Linked DNA regions of Homo sapiens: region 2 is linked to region 1. The links are contacts of gene promoters, found by promoter capture Hi-C in human tissues and cell types (Jung and others, 2019). All regions are on one chromosome and are shown on one strand. Each heading gives the region's core, a stretch centred on a gene start or on the middle of the fragment in contact. The rest is flanking DNA. Distances are from core to core; before and after follow the strand shown. Region 1 holds the start of POLR3K (RNA polymerase III subunit K). Region 2 holds the start of DECR2 (2,4-dienoyl-CoA reductase 2).

Region 1 (3,532 bases), core at 1,033-3,532:
CAAGGTTGCCCTGAGAATCTGACCCGGGCCTGTATGACTCCAAGGCTGGCACAAATATTGCTTGTCTGACAGATTATTAAACAGTAACAAATACAAATAAATTATTCAAGAACCATTTTCTATTTTTAGAAACCTACATCATTTATATGACATCATAGACTCTGCCAAGCAGTGGCATCAACAGCCTCATAATTATCCACAGTTTAGCAACAGAAACAGTTTTCCCTCTTACCTGCAGTAGAGTCAACATTCTCCCAGGCAGCTGCTCCACCAAGCACATCATCCACTTCTTTCAGTTTTGGGTACTTCCGATTTGTTACCTAACAAAAACAACACTTCAGACTCCAAGTAACTGAATAGCGCAAACCTGGGCTGCCAAACCTTAAATTTCAGGATTACATAAGAGTTCACTCGGCTGGGCGTGGTGGCTGACACCTGTAATCCCAGCACTTTGGGAGGCCAAGACGGGCGGATCACGAGGTCAAGAGATCGAGACCATCCTGGCTAACACGGTGAAACCCTGTCTCTACTAAAAATACAAAAAATTAGCCCGGCGTGTTGGCGGGCGCCTGTAGTCCCAGCTACTCAGGAGGCTGAGGCAGGAGAATGGTGTGAACCTGGGAGGCGGAGCTTGCAGTGAGCCGAGATCACACCACTGCACTCCAGCCTGGGCTACGGAGCAAGACTCCATCTCAAAAAAAAAAAAAAACAAAGAGTTCACTCTTCCCGTAGTTTCAAACTCCAAACTCCCACAACACAGTACAAACTGGAGTAGCATGCAAACATTAAGACTGACGTAGCACCAACATATTCTAACTGCTAAAAAGTAAAGGTATTCTGGCCAGGCGTGGTGGCTCACGCCTATAATCCCAGCACTTTGGGAGGCCAAGGCAAGCGGATCACCTGAGGTTGGGAGTTCGAGACCAGCCTGGCCAGCGCGGTGAAACCCCGTCTTTACTAAAAATACAAAAATTAGCCGGGGATGGTGGCAGGCGCCTGTAATTCCAGCTACTCGGGAAGCCGAGGCAGAAGAATTGCTTGAACCCGGGAGGCAGAGGTTGCAGTGAGCCGAGATTACGCCATTGCACTCCAGCCTGGGAAACAGAGCGAGACTCTGTCTCAAAAAAAAAAAAAAAAAAAAAAAAAAAAAAAAAAAAAAAAAGGTCGGGCGCGGTGGCTCACGCCTGTAATCCCAGCACTTTGGGAGGCCGAGGCGGGCAGATCACGAGGTCAGGAGACCGTCCTGGCTAACACACGGTGAAACCCCATCTCTACTAAAAATACAAAAAAATCAGCCAGGGGTGGTGGCGGACGCCTGTAGTCCCAGCTAATTGGGAGGCTGAGGCAGGAGAGTGGCGTGAACCCGGGAGGCAGAGCTTGCAGTGAGCCGAGATCGCGCCACTGCACTCCAGCCTGGGCGACAGAGCGGGACTCCGTCTCAAAAAAAAAAAAAAAAAAAAAAAAAAAAAACAATAAAAAAAAATAAAGAAAGCACACAATACATTACATAATATATTAGAAGGTAATAAGCCCTATGGAAACAATTACAAAGGGAAGGAGAATAAATTGGAAGGAGGGGCTGAAATTTAAAATACGGTAAAGACAAGACCAATGAGTAAGGTGGCGATCTAGGGGAAGAGTGAACTGAGCAACAGCAAGTGCAAAGGCCCTGCTAGCACCATGAGCACGATGAGAGATCGTCCAGGAGGCGGTGTTGATGCGGCAAAGGGCAACAGGAAGGGCATTAGGACTTGAAATCGGAGACGCACGCAGGGGAGGGAGTCAGTGTCGGAACCTGGTAGGCCCTGGGAGAACTCCGGCTTTTCGTCTGCGTGAGCTGGAGAAGAGCCGAAGGTTTCTGCGCACAGCACGGACCTGCGTGCCTCAGCTTTAAGGAAATCACCGTGGCCGCCGCTGTGAACGCAGAGAAGGGCGCGAGCGTGGGAGCAGGAACCCAAGGCGGTGGGAAACGGTGGGGCTTTCTGAGTGTATTGGAAAGTAGAGCCCACAGATCTGCTGCAGACCAGAAAGGGGCGCGAGAAAGAGCGGACAGAGGCAGACGCCGGGGCTGGCGGCGATGGAGCAGCAGTCGGAGGACGCGGAAGGCCTGCGAGAGTCGCCCGCGCCCAGCGCCGGCCTTCGGGTCCCACCTTGCGGGTGATGTTGTGCACGTAGGGGCACGTGTTGCAGGCGAAGCGGTGGCAGCGTTGTCCCTCCTCCACGATCAGCCCGTTCCCGCAGCCGGGGCAGAACAGCAGCATGGTCTCGAACTCCGCAGGCTCCAACTCCCGGCAGCTCCCACTGCCGCTCAGCGCCGATGCGCCGCCCGCCTCGAGCTCACATTGGTCCTGGCAGCCTTCCCGCCACACCAACCAACCAATAGACAGGGCGATTCTGCGCTCCCGGCCCTGCTGCAGGCTGTCTCGCACTTGTCATTGGTCACTGCAGCCGCCCCACCCCCCCCGGCGCGCCAGTGGCTGGGCGGCCTCGCTGGGGCGGGCCGCAGTTCCTGCGCGTGCGCGCTTGGCCTCCCTAGTGCGGGCTGGCAGTGCGGGCAGAGCCCGGCTGAGAGGGGCGGCCCTGGAGGAGACGGAGGCCGCGGGTGGGCCCGAGGCGCAAGAGGAAGATGAGGACGAAGAAGAGGCGCTGCCGCACTCCGAGGCCATGGACGTGTTCCAGGAGGGTCTGGCTATGGTGGTGCAGGACCCGCTGCTCTGCGATCTGCCGATCCAGGTGTGTGCGGGCGGGGGCTGGGGGCGCGGGAGTCGTTCCCCGGGGTCCGGGCATCCGGGCGCCGGCAGCCTCCGAAGGTGCTGGTGGGAGACTGCGGCCCAAGGCTGAGGAAGGCGCCTCTGGGCGTAAACGAGGGTTTTAACCTTGACCGGGCGCACTCGCCTGGGGCGCGAAGCTTAAAGAGGAACCAAAAACCTCATTAGTGAGTGACATCAAATGACATTTTAATGTAATTGTATTTAGGGGGCTCGGGGGACAGGGTCTTGCTGCGTTGCCCGGGCTGGAGTGCAGCGGCGTCCTCCCACCTCAGCCTCCCGAGTAATTGGGACCACAGGTGCGCGCTACCACACCCGGCTAATTTTTAAATATTTTGTACAGAGGGAGTCTCACTATGTTGCCCAGGCTGATCTGAAACTCCTGGGCTCAGGCGATCCTCCTGCCTCGGCCTCCCAAAATGCTGGGATTTAGGTGTGAGCCACCCGCCTGGCCTGTAATACCTTTAAAAGTCAAAGTTGAGGCAAAAAAAGAGCCTACGGTAAAAGAAAAATTTAGTTTTAAATAAGAGCAAGATTAGTAGTACTGATTGTTCCATTTGCCTCAAGCGTCAATCATGTGTCAAAGCGTCAGTATCATGCTTTGGGACGATACTGTCTTTTTATTTATTTATTTATTTATTTGAGACTGAGTCTTGGTCCGTTGCCAGGCTGGAGTGTAGTGGTGCCATCTCGACTCACTGCAACCTCCCCCTCCCGGGTTCACTACAGGCACGCGCCACCACGCCCGGCTAATTTTTTGTATT
Region 2 (3,532 bases), core at 417-2,916, 350 kb after region 1:
GAATGTCATCCACGCCAGCGACTCCGTGGAGGGGGCCCAGCGGGAGATCCAGCTGTGGTTCCAGAGCAGTGAGCTGGTGAGCTGGGCAGACGGGGGCCAGCACAGCAGCATCCACCCAGCCTGAGGCTCAAGCTGCCCTTACCACCCCATCCCCCACGCAGGACCAACTACCTCCGTCAGCAAGAACCCAAGCCCACATCCAAACCTGCCTGTCCCAAACCACTTACTTCCCTGTTCACCTCTGCCCCACCCCAGCCCAGAGGAGTTTGAGCCACCAACTTCAGTGCCTTTCTGTACCCCAAGCCAGCACAAGATTGGACCAATCCTTTTTGCACCAAAGTGCCGGACAACCTTTGTGGTGGGGGGGGGTCTTCACATTATCATAACCTCTCCTCTAAAGGGGAGGCATTAAAATTCACTGTGCCCAGCACATGGGTGGTACACTAATTATGACTTCCCCCAGCTCTGAGGTAGAAATGACGCCTTTATGCAAGTTGTAAGGAGTTGAACAGTAAAGAGGAAGTTTTGCACACCCAGTTCCATAACGTTGTTGGATGTATGAGCCAGGCAGGGGTCCAGAGACCACCAGCCTGCAATCCGGAGAACCCAAGCTAGGCGCGAGCCGGTGCTGTGATCCCGCCAAAGGAGAAGCTGCCTTCCCGGGGAAGGGGCAGAGAGGGGCCGGCGGGCTGAGGCCAACCAGCGCAGAAAGGGCCTGGCAGCCATTACTGTAGCGCTGGCGGCTCTGTCACGCCCCTGAAGCCGCTGGCCCGCGGGTGTGTTCAGCTCAGGAGCGGCCCTGCGTGTTTTTCCCCCGTGGCCGTCGCGGACCCCCGTCTTCCAACAGTGGTGCGGGCGGGGCGCCCCGTCCTGGGTTCGCGGCATAGCCCCGCCCGGGCCCCCACGCGGAACAGAAGTAACGGACCCTTTTTTTTTTGTTTTTGTTTTTGAAACGGAGTGTCGCTCTGTCGCCCAGGATAGAGTGCAGTGGCGCGATCTCGGCTCACTGCAACCTCCGCCTCCCGGGTTCAAGCGATTCTCCTGCCTCAGCCTCCCGAGTAGATGGAACTACAGGCACCCGCCACAATGCCCGGCTAATTTTTGTATTTTTAGTAAAGAGGGGGTTTCGCCATGTTGTCCAGGATGGTCTCGAACTCCTGACCTCGTGATCCGCCCGCCTCGGCCTCCCAAAGTGTTGGGATTACAGGCGTGAGCCACCGCGCCCGGCCCCGGACCCTTCTTTATTGGCCTCAAAACGGGTCATTTTGGGAAGCGGCGCGGGGCTGGCCGCGCTTCCCTGGGCCCCGGCCCTCCCCATGGTGTTTACGGGGAGGCGAACGGGGAGCCCAGAGGCTGCGAGCCTGGCCTGGACCCAGGAGCCAGGGGTATCCCACAAGTCCTGGAGGCTCTGAACGCGGCGCTGACGCCGAATACCTGTGAAAAAGACTCGGGGAGGAGACCCGCAGACCGCCGAGCTTCTGCCGCGGGAACCGCGCCCCCGGCCCCGCAATGCGCCTGCGCCTCGCGCGCCGACTTCCAGTCCCAGCAGGCCGCGGGCGGGGGCGGGGCCTCCGGGGAGAATTCGGGGGAGGGGCGGGGCCTCCGGGAAGCAATCAGGGCAGGGGCGGGGCGTCCGGGGAGTGGGGCGGGGCTCCCGGTTCCAGGCGAGTTCGCAGCTGCGCGCCGGGTCCTGGAGGCCGAGGCCGCTCCCGCCCGTTGTCCCCGCAGTCCCCGACGGGAGCGCCATGGCCCAGCCGCCGCCCGACGTGGAGGGGGACGACTGTCTCCCCGCGTACCGCCACCTCTTCTGCCCGGACCTGCTGCGGTGAGCGGGGCCTGGGAAGCGAGCGCAGCCTTGGTGCGGGGTCCGGTCCGCGGGCGCCGGCGCCCCCACGTGGTCCCCGAGGGCTCGCGTGTTAGGAAACCTGTCTTGCCTGGCTCCTTTCTTTCTTTTTTCTTTCTTTTTTTTTTTTTGAGACGGAATCTCGCTGTGTCGCCCAGGCTGGAGTGCAGTGGCACGATCTCCGCTCACTGCAAACTCTGCCTCCCGGGTTCAAGCGATTCTCCTGCCTCAGCCCGGCTAATTTTTATTTTTAGTAGAGAGGGGGTGTCACCGTGTTGGTCAGGCTCTTTTCGAACTCCTGACCTCAGGTGATCCACCCGCCTCGGCTTCCCAAAGTGCTGGGATTTACAGGCGTGAGCCACCGCGCCCGGCCCAACCTGGCCTCTTTCTTAACAGAAAATTTTAGGTTGAAATCATTTTTCCGGAAGACCCAGAAGGCCCAGGAATGCCAGGTTTTGCCCAGCAGCTCTTCATTTTCCTGCAAACGCCTTGGTGTTCACAAGAGAAGGCAGCCCGGGCAAAGGTCGATCCTCCCCGGTCACCTGCCCTCACTCGGCTAATGGGCGGATCCTTTTTTTTTTTTCCTTTTCTTTTTTTCAATTGGCAACATTTTCAAGTTTCTATTAAAATTTTGATCTTTTGCCAGGAGCAGTGGCTCACGCCTGTAATCCCAGCTCTTTGGGAGGCCGAAGCGGGTAGATCACCAGAGGTCAGGAGTTCGAGACCAGCCTGGCCAACATGGTGAAACCCCGTCTCTGCTAAAAATACAAAAAATTAGCCGGGTGTGGTGGCGCACACCTGTAATCCCAACTACTTGGGAGGCTGAGGCAGGAGAATCACTTGAACTCGGGAGGTGGAGGTTGCAGTGAGCCGAGATCGCACCATTGCACTGGGCAACAAGAGTGAAACTCCATCTCAAAAAAAGAAAACAAGTTTTAAATTATGTTCTCCAAGGACAGGTATTGACAATTCTCTCTGAGTGTTCTGCAGGAAAAAAAAAAAGTTTTTTTTCGAAACGGAGTCTCATTCTGGGTTGAAGCAATTCTCCTGCCTCAGCCTCCCAATTCTCCTGCTTCAGCCTCAGTGCGCCCAAGTGGGACTATAGGCACACAATACCACGCTGGGCTAATTGTATTTCTAGTAGAGGTGAGTGTCACCATGTTGGTCAGGCTGGTCTGGAACTCCTGACCTCAGATGATCCACCTGCCTCGGCCTCCCAAAGTGCTGGGATGACAGGAGTGAGACGCTGCACCTGGCCCAAAATTAATCTTTAATAATTAAGAATAGGAAAGGCAACTTGGAGATCAGCAAAAGTTTGCCATCCATCTGGTACAGTTTGTGCCAGTCATACCGATCAGTACACATTTAATGCGTACAAGAAAATCTCTAATAAATAAAAAAGCCATATTATCCCGACGTAGCTTGCTGAATCTCAGGTATCATATTTGATATTAGTGCCATGCAGGGCTTAGGAGAGAGGAAATTATAACCTCTATCTTGTTTAAGCCAGGGTATTTTTCTCTCTTGTATCTACTTCTGTCCATTTCTGTCAAAAGACACAGAAATACCCTTTCCCCCACTGCACTTTGCAAGTTTGTGTCAGCACAAGTTCAGGACCAGCCTGAGCAACAAAACGATACCCCTCTCTAGAAAAACTAGATGAAAAATTAGCTGGGCACTCTGGCATGC

Evidence for each region. Contacts are between HindIII fragments. The study calls those that stand out against the background at their distance.
Region 2: the fragment with the promoter of DECR2 here is called in contact with the fragment with the promoter of POLR3K in region 1 in 2 of the 25 tissues and cell types used here (lymphoblastoid cells and spleen).

The regions. Positions count from the first base shown.
Region 1 is chr16:51,326-54,857 of GRCh38, forward strand. It overlaps POLR3K (RNA polymerase III subunit K), which reads right to left and starts at 2,283. Exons shown (of 3, transcript NM_016310.5): 1 at 2,151-2,283; 2 at 233-320. The coding sequence starts at 2,261. SNRNP25 (small nuclear ribonucleoprotein U11/U12 subunit 25) reads left to right here and starts at 2,503. Exons shown (of 5, transcript NM_024571.4): 1 at 2,503-2,733. The coding sequence starts at 2,692. RefSeq lists enhancers at 1,549-2,075, 1,804-1,963 and silencers at 2,294-2,613, 2,754-2,853. The HindIII fragment of the contact is 23,499 bases long and covers 1-3,532 here.
Region 2 is chr16:400,219-403,750 of GRCh38, forward strand. It overlaps DECR2 (2,4-dienoyl-CoA reductase 2), which reads left to right and starts at 1,667. Exons shown (of 9, transcript NM_020664.4): 1 at 1,667-1,825. The coding sequence starts at 1,746. It overlaps NME4 (NME/NM23 nucleoside diphosphate kinase 4), which reads left to right. Exons shown (of 5, transcript NM_005009.3): 5 at 1-536. The coding sequence ends at 124. RefSeq lists enhancers at 490-799, 647-1,232. The HindIII fragment of the contact is 11,138 bases long and covers 434-3,532 here.